Regions from separate parts of the Homo sapiens genome. Here region 1 is linked to region 2. The links are contacts of gene promoters, found by promoter capture Hi-C in blood cells and fetal thymus (Javierre and others, 2016). All regions are on one chromosome and are shown on one strand. Each heading gives the region's core, a stretch centred on a gene start or on the middle of the fragment in contact. The rest is flanking DNA. Distances are from core to core; before and after follow the strand shown. Region 1 overlaps ARL15 (ARF like GTPase 15). Region 2 holds the start of PDE4D-AS1 (PDE4D antisense RNA 1).

Region 1 (4,446 bases), core at 260-2,759, 4.7 Mb after region 2:
TTACTCTTAACTTGAAGATGATCAAGATATAATCCTTTTAGCCAGGGTGGCAATTTAAACATAAAAATCTCTGTTTTCCAGTTGATGAGTGAATCTTCCTAGAAGGGCACACAACTTTTCCCCTTTCCATGATGGGGTTTAAAGGCCATGTTTACATCTGCCAAGTCTCTGGGTAAACATTTAGCTGCTGTCCCAACAGGCAGTACCAGCATCTTACTCTTTCTTCTCATAGGTAGAACTAGTAACACAATGTGCAGAGCTTTTTGGATAAGGTAGGAGAAAATAGTCAGGTTAAAATGAAAGAGAAAAACACATTTCTCGAGTTTTCCTGGGAGGTTGGACAAGATCAACTTCTAGATTCCTTTCAGTTCAAAATTTTCTGTCTTGACTCATGTGATGATTGATCTGGAATTAACCTTTTTTCCCTCTGCGCCATCAAAACAACAGTGGTAGAATTGGTTGTACTCTGTGTAATACCTATGATGATTAAATGAGATAGTGGAGGGAAAGCCATTTGTAAACAGTACGTTGCTTTTCAAATATAAAATGTTAACGTATTGTGTGGCTGGGCGAGGTGGCTCACGCCCGTAATCCCAGGACTTTGGGAGGGCAAGACAGGCGGATCACTTGAGGTCAGGAGTTTGAGACCAGCCTGGCTGACATGGAGAAACCCCATCTCCACTTAAAATAGAAAAATTAGCTGGGTGTCGTGGCGCATGCCTGTAATCTCAGCTACTTGGGAGGCTGAGGCAGGAGAATCGCTTGAACCCAGGAGGCAGAGGTTGCAGTGAGATCGCACAACTGCACTCCAGCCTGGGCGACAGAGTGAGACTCCGTCTCAAGACAAAAAAAAAAAAAAAAAGTTAACGTATTGTGATTATGTTGCTGATGTTACTTTTATACCTCCTGTAGAATGACTGTTACTGCTTAGTGGTATTGAAATACCTTTTAAACTAGTCTCAATTTATGGAAATACTGGGAGTTGTAATCAACAAGCAGGAAGTCACAAGACTCTTTTAAGAATCTTTTAAAAGCTACGAAAATAAAACCCATTTGAATAATTTATCTATTCAACAAATATTTATGGAGCCCTTACTTTCTGCATGGCCCTGAAAGTCATGCGGGATGAACCCTCAGCTGTAATATCCTCCTTGACTGCAGGACTGGCAGTCGTGTGGCTCTAGAGGAACCTGTGGCAGGACAGGTTAAGTAAGGCACATAGGGGAGGGGGTAGCTTCTGATGTGCTTCTTTGCTTTCTAGTACATTTCTCTCATTTTGTGTGTTTTATTGTGAACTAAAATATAAACTTAGACTTGAAAATGTGACAAGTAAAAATGGTTGATTAGTCTTGGATGCTAATTGTCAATTAATATTCATTGCATTTGTTTATAGTAGCCTCCACCCTCCCATCCACGGTTTTACTTTTCAAGGTTTCAGTTAACCATGGTCCACCGAGGTCTCAAAATAAGTGAGTAAAGTACAATAAGATATTTTAAGAGAGAGAGAGACCACATTCATATAACTTTTATTACTGTATATTGTTATCATTGTTCACTTTTATTATTAGTTATTATTAATCACTTACTATGCCTAATTTACACATTAAACTTTATCATAGGTGTGTGTGTATAGGAAAAAATATAGTGTGCTCTGTGCTATGTTAGTTAGTTCTATGATAGCTCAGTACTATCTGTGGTTTTAGGTATCCACTGGGACTTGGAATATATCCCCCATGGATGAGGGGAAACTACTGTACCGTGTTGGGGATTTTTTATTTATTTATTTTTTTTTTGTGACAGAGTTTTGCTCTTGTCATGCAGGCTGGAGTGCAATGGGGTGATTCTCCTGTCTCAGCCTCCTAAGTAGCTGGGATTACAGGTGCCCACCACCATGCCCAGCTAATTTTTGTATGTTTAGTAGAGACGGGGTTTCACCATGTTGGCCAGGCTGGTCTCAAACTCCTGACCTCAGGTGATCCACCTGCCTCGACCTCCCAAAGTGCTGGGATTACAGGAGTGAGCCACCGTGCCCTGCCAGTGTTTGGGATTTAATAAGATTAGATTTGATAGGTTAGTTTAATAAGATTTCTTTGTATAGACTGGTGGACTTGACCTATTTAGTTTCTTGGTTATAGGCTGTATCTGCCATCATAAAAATGTATGTCTCAGTGGGGAAGATGTGGTGAGAGAATTGGGTTGATCATCACAAATCTGTCACCATTTGCAGGATAAAAACCAGCTAACTAACCAACAATAGAAACCCATGATGTGCTACAAAGGGTAGAGCCCACAGGCACTATGAAATTGTAAAGGATCCTACTTGAAAAGAGGAGTGAAGGTACATTTGTGATTTCATATTATGTTCAGTTATCTGTGAACTGAACTTCTTTATTGATAAAAAAAAAAGTACATTGTTTCGTTGTTTTTAACCCTGAATATCTATGAACATTGTAAGTTGTATTTATTGTGACTAACTTTAAAGTGATAATGTAGGTCACTTTTTAGTCTAAATGTCGAGTGGATTAGGCAGTCATATTAAATATTCCTTTCTTAATAATTTATAAGATAAAAATTATCTGAGCACAATAAACAGATCTACCATATATGGAGTTCATATAGCAAAAATGTTTTGAGCAAATCCGTACCATTAGGTAGGAACTTTTCTACAAAGGTGTTAAGTCTGGTTCCCAAACTTCTGTGGCTCCAGTCTAACAGTATGAGCCCTAGGAGAGGACACATAGGGACCTTGATTCATGCCCTCCAGGGGCTTGCATTCTGAAAGATGCCAAAGCCACATGCTTGTTGGCATGTGGGCAGTGCTCAGGTCGGGGGTGAGAGGAGATAAGTATATGAGTTATAATCAGGAGGGCAAAATCAGTTAACATTTATTGAACACTTACTCTGTGCCAGTGTTCTAAGTGCTTTGCATGTGTAATAGCATTAAACTGAGGCTCAGGGAGGTTGTGTAATTTCCTCAAGTTCACACAGCTAGCAAGTAGTTGAACTGCGCTTGTGGCCCCAGGGCCCTCCCTCTTCATTGCCTTCCACCTACAAGTAGTTCCCTTGTGCTAGGCAGAGGCTCAGGCAGCTTGGTGTTAAGGCAGTTGGGATGCACTCAAAATTTTTAGTATATTGCTTCTTAAGTAAACAGGTACAGAAAAGTGGTCCTTGACCACTACTATGTTAAAGAAAGCAGTGGCCATGAGCAGGCAGGCTGATGCGCCCTTGTCCCCAAGGACTCTGGCAGGTGATTGTTACAGAGAAGGCTGGCTAGGAAGAGAACTATGTTGTGTGCTGGGAACTCCTGCCTTACAGTCTCCATACCCTGGTCATAGCCACTGAGGTGATCTTCAGCATCTAGTGTTCCACCAGGTGACCACATATAGATTTTCAGGCAACCTCCTTACTCAGCCCCCTAGTGTCACTTTTGGGGGCACATTCCTACCTGCCCCAAGCCCCAGTTTTGTTTTGTTTCGTTTTTCTTCCCTCCCTTCCCCTCCTTTCCCCTCCCCTCCCCTCTCCTTTTTCTTCTTTTTTTCCTCTCCTCCTCTTTCTTCTTTTTTTCCTCTCCTCTTCTTCTTCTTTTTTTTTTTTTTTTGACAGGGTCTCACTCTGTCATCCAGGCTGGAGTGCAGTGGTGCGATCTCCTTACTCAGTCCCCTAGTGTCACTTTCAGGGGCACATTCCTACCTGCCCCAAGTCCCAGTTTGTTTGTTTGTTTCTTGCTTTTCTTGGTTGCTTGCTTGACAGGGTCTCACTCTGTCATCCAAGCTGGAGTGCAGTGGCTTGATCTCAGCTCACTGCAACCTCTGCCTCCCGGGTTCAAGCAATTATCCCACCTAAGCCTCCTGAGTAGCTGGGACTACAGGCGTATGGTTAGTTTTTGTATTTTTTGGTAGAGACGGGGTTTCACCATGTTGCCCAGGCTGGTCTCAATCTCCTGACCTCAAATGATCCACCTACCTCAGCTTCCCAAAGTGCTAGGATCACAGGCGTGAGCCACTGTGCCCAGCCCCATTTCTTTTGAAGAGGTACTGAGACTGTGCTATGTTCTTTTGCCACGCACTGCCTGGGAAGTCAGCTGTTCCCAATAGATACTAGGCCATAAGCAGCCTGTTGCTTATGGACTTCAGCTGGGCAAAATCTCCTGATGGTATTAACTTTATAAAAGGATTTATTTCTAAGGTAGACTAAAGAGAAGGAAAGCTTGTTAGGGAAGGTCTCATAACTATTGTAGGTGACAAGAAGTGGGAATTTCCTCTGATACTTCCCACAAATTAAATTATTGAGGGGCTTTTGTTTTGGATCCTGCAGCCCCCTGTGTTATGTTGTGGCTCTCCCCTGTCATCTCCCCAAATGTCCCAATGTCCCAGGTGTTTGGATGAGTCTAAGAAGCCCAGTTCTGGTTGACCCTCATTTTCCGAGTGTCTGTAAAGTACCAAGTCA
Region 2 (4,245 bases), core at 1,709-4,208:
CTTGAAGAAAACTGATGCTGTTGTAGCAGGGGCCTTCAAGGCTCAATTTATTTCTCAGTTGCTGTTCCATAGCCCTCTCCCAGCCTTTAGGGAGTTTAGCCAATAGTTTTTGCTTGGGTGTTTTTCTCTGTTTAGTTCCTTGACTTAGCAAGATTTGGTGCAGTTAAAGAGTTTTCATGTATTTTTAAGGAGAGCCACAGTGTATACTACTCTGGCAGGGGTTGAGGGGAAGTATTTTATTAATGAATGCAGTATGTGTTCTTGGTAAAAGCCAAAATTAAACTGGCTCACTGTTTTTGTCCTGCTAGCTGTCGACATTTAGGTGTGTTGCTTGGTGTGGTGACTCAATTTCCTGTGGGATAGTTGGCAACTCCACTTTGAGGTTTGTTCGGCGGGATGAAAAGGTCAGTTACTTGATGTCTTAGAACACTTGGGGTTAAAATTCCTAAAAGTGAAGCTTTACAAATGATCCTGAAAAATCGTGGCTAGCTATATTGCCTACTCACCTAGGAATTTGGAAAAAAGCAATATTCTCAGCTCTATGCTAATATCAAGAATAATTCTTTATTTGAGCAACAGTTTCACAGAGCAAACTTTACTCTGTTAGTAATTATTTTCTCACTAGCATGTAGATGTGTTCCAGTGATTTTTCATTTTTCTTATTTATACAGATGTTAGAACTTAAAATATATGCTTACCCCATTTTATCATCATACTCAAATCCTGTCTGTCAAAAGTGGCTGGTGCATGGCTTGGACATAAAATGGATATTCTGAAGTAAATTGTTCCTCCTGTCACTATACTACCTTCTTAAGAACAAATCCTGTGTATAAAGTGCATGATGTCTTGAAGCATTAGCCAAAACTTTCCTGAATTATTTTCCACATTAAAAAATAACAACTGAAATATAATGTGTGGAGCCACATCCTGTTAGATTTGAAGCCTGAGTCTGAACAGCTTTGGGAACTTGGTGAAGATGGAGGAAGGGGGCAGTTTACTTAGCTACTGGGAAATCACTTGAGGCTCAGGCTTTGAGAAAGTTGGAGTGCAGGGGAGAGGAGCCACAGAAAGCCGAACCTCAGAGGGGACTCCCAGCTTCATTGTAACCAATGATTGAAAAGATGGCACTGAACAAATCCCAGACACAATGGTTATGCATCTTTAATCCACTGGATAGGCTAACTATGGACAGCTCAAATGATCATAAAACAAGTCAATGTCCTCTTAAAATTTCCTACATTCCTATATTATGGGAATGAGAGAGAGAGGAAAATATCAAAACCAAACCATATAGTAGATGCACTACCATGGCAACTAGGTGATGCTATACTTGCATATGGAAGTTATTCAGTAAAATGAAAATGATTGTGTTAGAGCCATAGGCGAAAGTATTGTTTGTGATCTTTAGGGTGTGGGGTTACAATGGACTTCCTATATTTGTGTGTAATGCTTCAATTTTTATAACAAGCATGTAATATTTTTTACATTCTTAGAATTGGGGAAGCTATACAGAGCAGGTATTTTATATTTACCATTTAAAATTATTAATATCTTTAAGCTTGTTAAGGGGGAAAAAAAAGCTTCAATCTGAAACTTTAATTCACCTGGCAAGGTTTAGGCAGTTGTTTGTCCATCTAAAGTATATATTTACATAGACTGCGGGGTGGAGGAAGTAGAACAAAAAAGAGGCAAATTTTAACCTAGAGTACTCAAAGTGAACAGTAAATAGTTCAAGTATTCTTGATAACAATAAGCCACGTGGCACATGTAACAACTACTTTAAAAGTTACTCTAACTTTTACAAAGTTCACATAAAAAGCTATCTCAAAAATCCCAGGAGCCTAAATTCAGTCCATGAACTTTATTTGTTGTGCCATGTTAATTTATGGAGTCTAAATTTCAAGGGCAGAATTTCTTCTCCAATACCTGTAGATTCAAAGACAAAGACAAGGGATCCCACCACTTAGTGTAAGTTTCTCAGTATCTTCTTTCCACTCGACAATGACAAAGTTTTATCAAATGGACCCTTGGGAGTTTGACTTCTCCTCACTATGAATGGTTTGCTTATTGCATGCTAATGTAGAAAAGTTCTCCCACAACTGATCTGCTTAGGGACAGTGTCCCTGGTGCCCTGGGTCAGCCTTTGTAAACAGAACAGGCTTTTCTGTATGCCTTTGAATATGGTCTTTCCGTTTTCTCAAAATTGTAGTGTACTCTGCACATGGTGGGTAGAAACACCCTTCCAGATTTTCTTCCTTGGCCCAAGATCATCTAGGTCTTATGCAATTCACAGGGGAAAGGAGTAGTATGCAGGACATGCGTAAATTCTCCTTACCATGTGGTTCTTTCACATTGCTGTTCCTTTAAGAGAACTCTTAGGCAATTCGGCATATGAAAATGCAGCCTATTGTCAAATTTGTGAATTATAAAGCGTTCCGACCCCACAACATTGTATATTTTGTTTGCTTGTTTCTGTCCGCCCCAACATTTAGAAGTCTGGTACTTAGTAGGGACTGGGCTGGGTAGAAAAAGAATGCGGTCTTAATTCCCACAACCCTGCCTCCTTGAAGTAGGTGAATCCTAAGCCTTTAGAAACGAACCCCCAGAAACCCTAAAACTTAAACCCTCAGAAACCTTGAGGGTCCTAAATAACCTTGTTTGTGAAACTTCGCAGGAAGCAGCCGGTCGTGGAGTCGCAGAGGCTCCAGCGGTCTGGGCAACCTGGAGGGCAGTGGCTCGGCGGGGCGCGCGGGGTTCTAGCGAGACAGGTGCGCGGCCGTGCGCGCCTGCGTGCCGGTCCCTCCTGAGCCCCGCGGCGGGCGCGACCCCGGACGGCGGACTGCAGGCGCTCCACGCCGGGTTTTCCGCCGCTCTCCTAGCACAGACAGTCCCACAGCAGCCCCACAGACACACACGCTCGCGCCCGCGCCTCCTCGTCTGCACTTCAAAGCGAGTGGCGCCCGGCTGCGCCGGGGGGATGGCACTGCGAGGTGGCGGGGCCCCCGGGGCAGAGCTCGAGGGGAAGGACGCGGCGGGTGGCACGGACAGGGACAGGCTTTTGCAATTCGGAATCTTTTCGTAAGGGGGTTGAGGAGGAGCCAGGCAGCGCCGAGGGCCGAGAGGGGCGTGAGGGGGAGTGTTCCCGGAAAGCTGCGGCGTTGGAGCCGCGCTGCGCCTGCCGCCCGAGGAGTTGAGAAAGAAAACAGGAAACGTGGTGGCCGCGCACCCGGCCGCGGCTGATTCATTCACTTCAAGTGCCGTGCAGAAGGCTCGGCAGGCGGGGCGGGCGTGGGGCCGCGGCTCCGGGTTGGGGACCGAGGAGATCCGGCTGTGGACCAGACGCTCCTCTGCGGGGCGGGCACCCAAGCGCGCTCGCCACCCCCTCGCCATCCGCTAGAGCCGGGCTCCTGGACTGGGACTCGGGCCCGCCGCACAGTTGAAAAGTCGCATAGTGGTTTTTCCGCTCGCGTCGCTGTGTGAAAGTTGGCTCGCCGCTCTTTGCACGCCCTCCCTGGAGGCCGACCCGAGACGCCAAGCTGGAGAGACCGTGCCTCCCCGAGGCCGGCCGCCCCGCGAGCACAGCCTCCGCCCCCGTTGCACTGCCGGGCTGGGCAATATGAAGGAGCAGCCCTCATGTGCCGGCACCGGGCATCCGAGCATGGCGGGGTATGGCAGGATGGCCCCCTTTGAACTCGCTAGCGGACCCGTGAAGCGCTTGAGAACTGAGTCCCCCTTTCCCTGTCTCTTCGCAGAGGAGGCCTACCAGAAACTGGCCAGCGAGACCCTGGAGGAGCTGGACTGGTGTCTGGACCAGCTAGAGACCCTACAGACCAGGCACTCCGTCAGTGAGATGGCCTCCAACAAGGTAAGCCCCGGTTCTGCTGTCACTGGTGCCCCCAGGCTGCTGATTCCCATGCCGGCGAGCCACTGGTACCCATAGCCCCGGGAAATAAATTGAGAGGTTTTTTAGGCTTACTGCATGTTGGCTATTCTGCTCCTTAGAGGGAGGTTCCTGTTTCCTTGCTTTGCCTCCCCTAGTCACGCCAGATAAACATTTTCCAAAAGCAATTTGACGTGCTAAATTTAAGTATCTCCCAAGACACAGGGTTCCTAAGTAACACTGAGCCCTTGCAGCAGAAACCCAGTAGGGTCCATGGGCATTGCATGTTTAAAGGTGTTCTTGGGATTCCCGGTTGAAAATAAGAATTGGTGGATGTCTGTGAAATCACTTGAATGTCACCACCT

What was found. Contacts are between HindIII fragments. The CHiCAGO score rates a contact against its expected background, and 5 or more counts as called.
Region 1: a contact is called between a fragment that was not itself captured here and the fragment with the promoter of PDE4D-AS1 in region 2, in 1 of 17 cell types (monocytes). The highest score is 5.7, in monocytes.

The regions. Positions count from the first base shown.
Region 1 is chr5:54,302,808-54,307,253 of GRCh38, reverse strand. All of the region lies in intron 1 of ARL15 (ARF like GTPase 15), which reads left to right. Among named protein-coding and RNA genes, the nearest start is that of ARL15, 5.5 kb to the left of the region's middle. RefSeq lists an enhancer at 1,919-2,582. The HindIII fragment of the contact is 5,398 bases long and covers 1-4,208 here.
Region 2 is chr5:59,038,479-59,042,723 of GRCh38, reverse strand. It overlaps PDE4D-AS1 (PDE4D antisense RNA 1), which reads right to left and starts at 2,958. Exons shown (of 2, transcript NR_198970.1): 1 at 2,654-2,958. It overlaps PDE4D (phosphodiesterase 4D), which reads left to right. Exons shown (of 15, transcript NM_001104631.2): 6 at 3,753-3,865. RefSeq lists a silencer at 3,520-3,589. The HindIII fragment of the contact is 4,461 bases long and covers 1,583-4,245 here.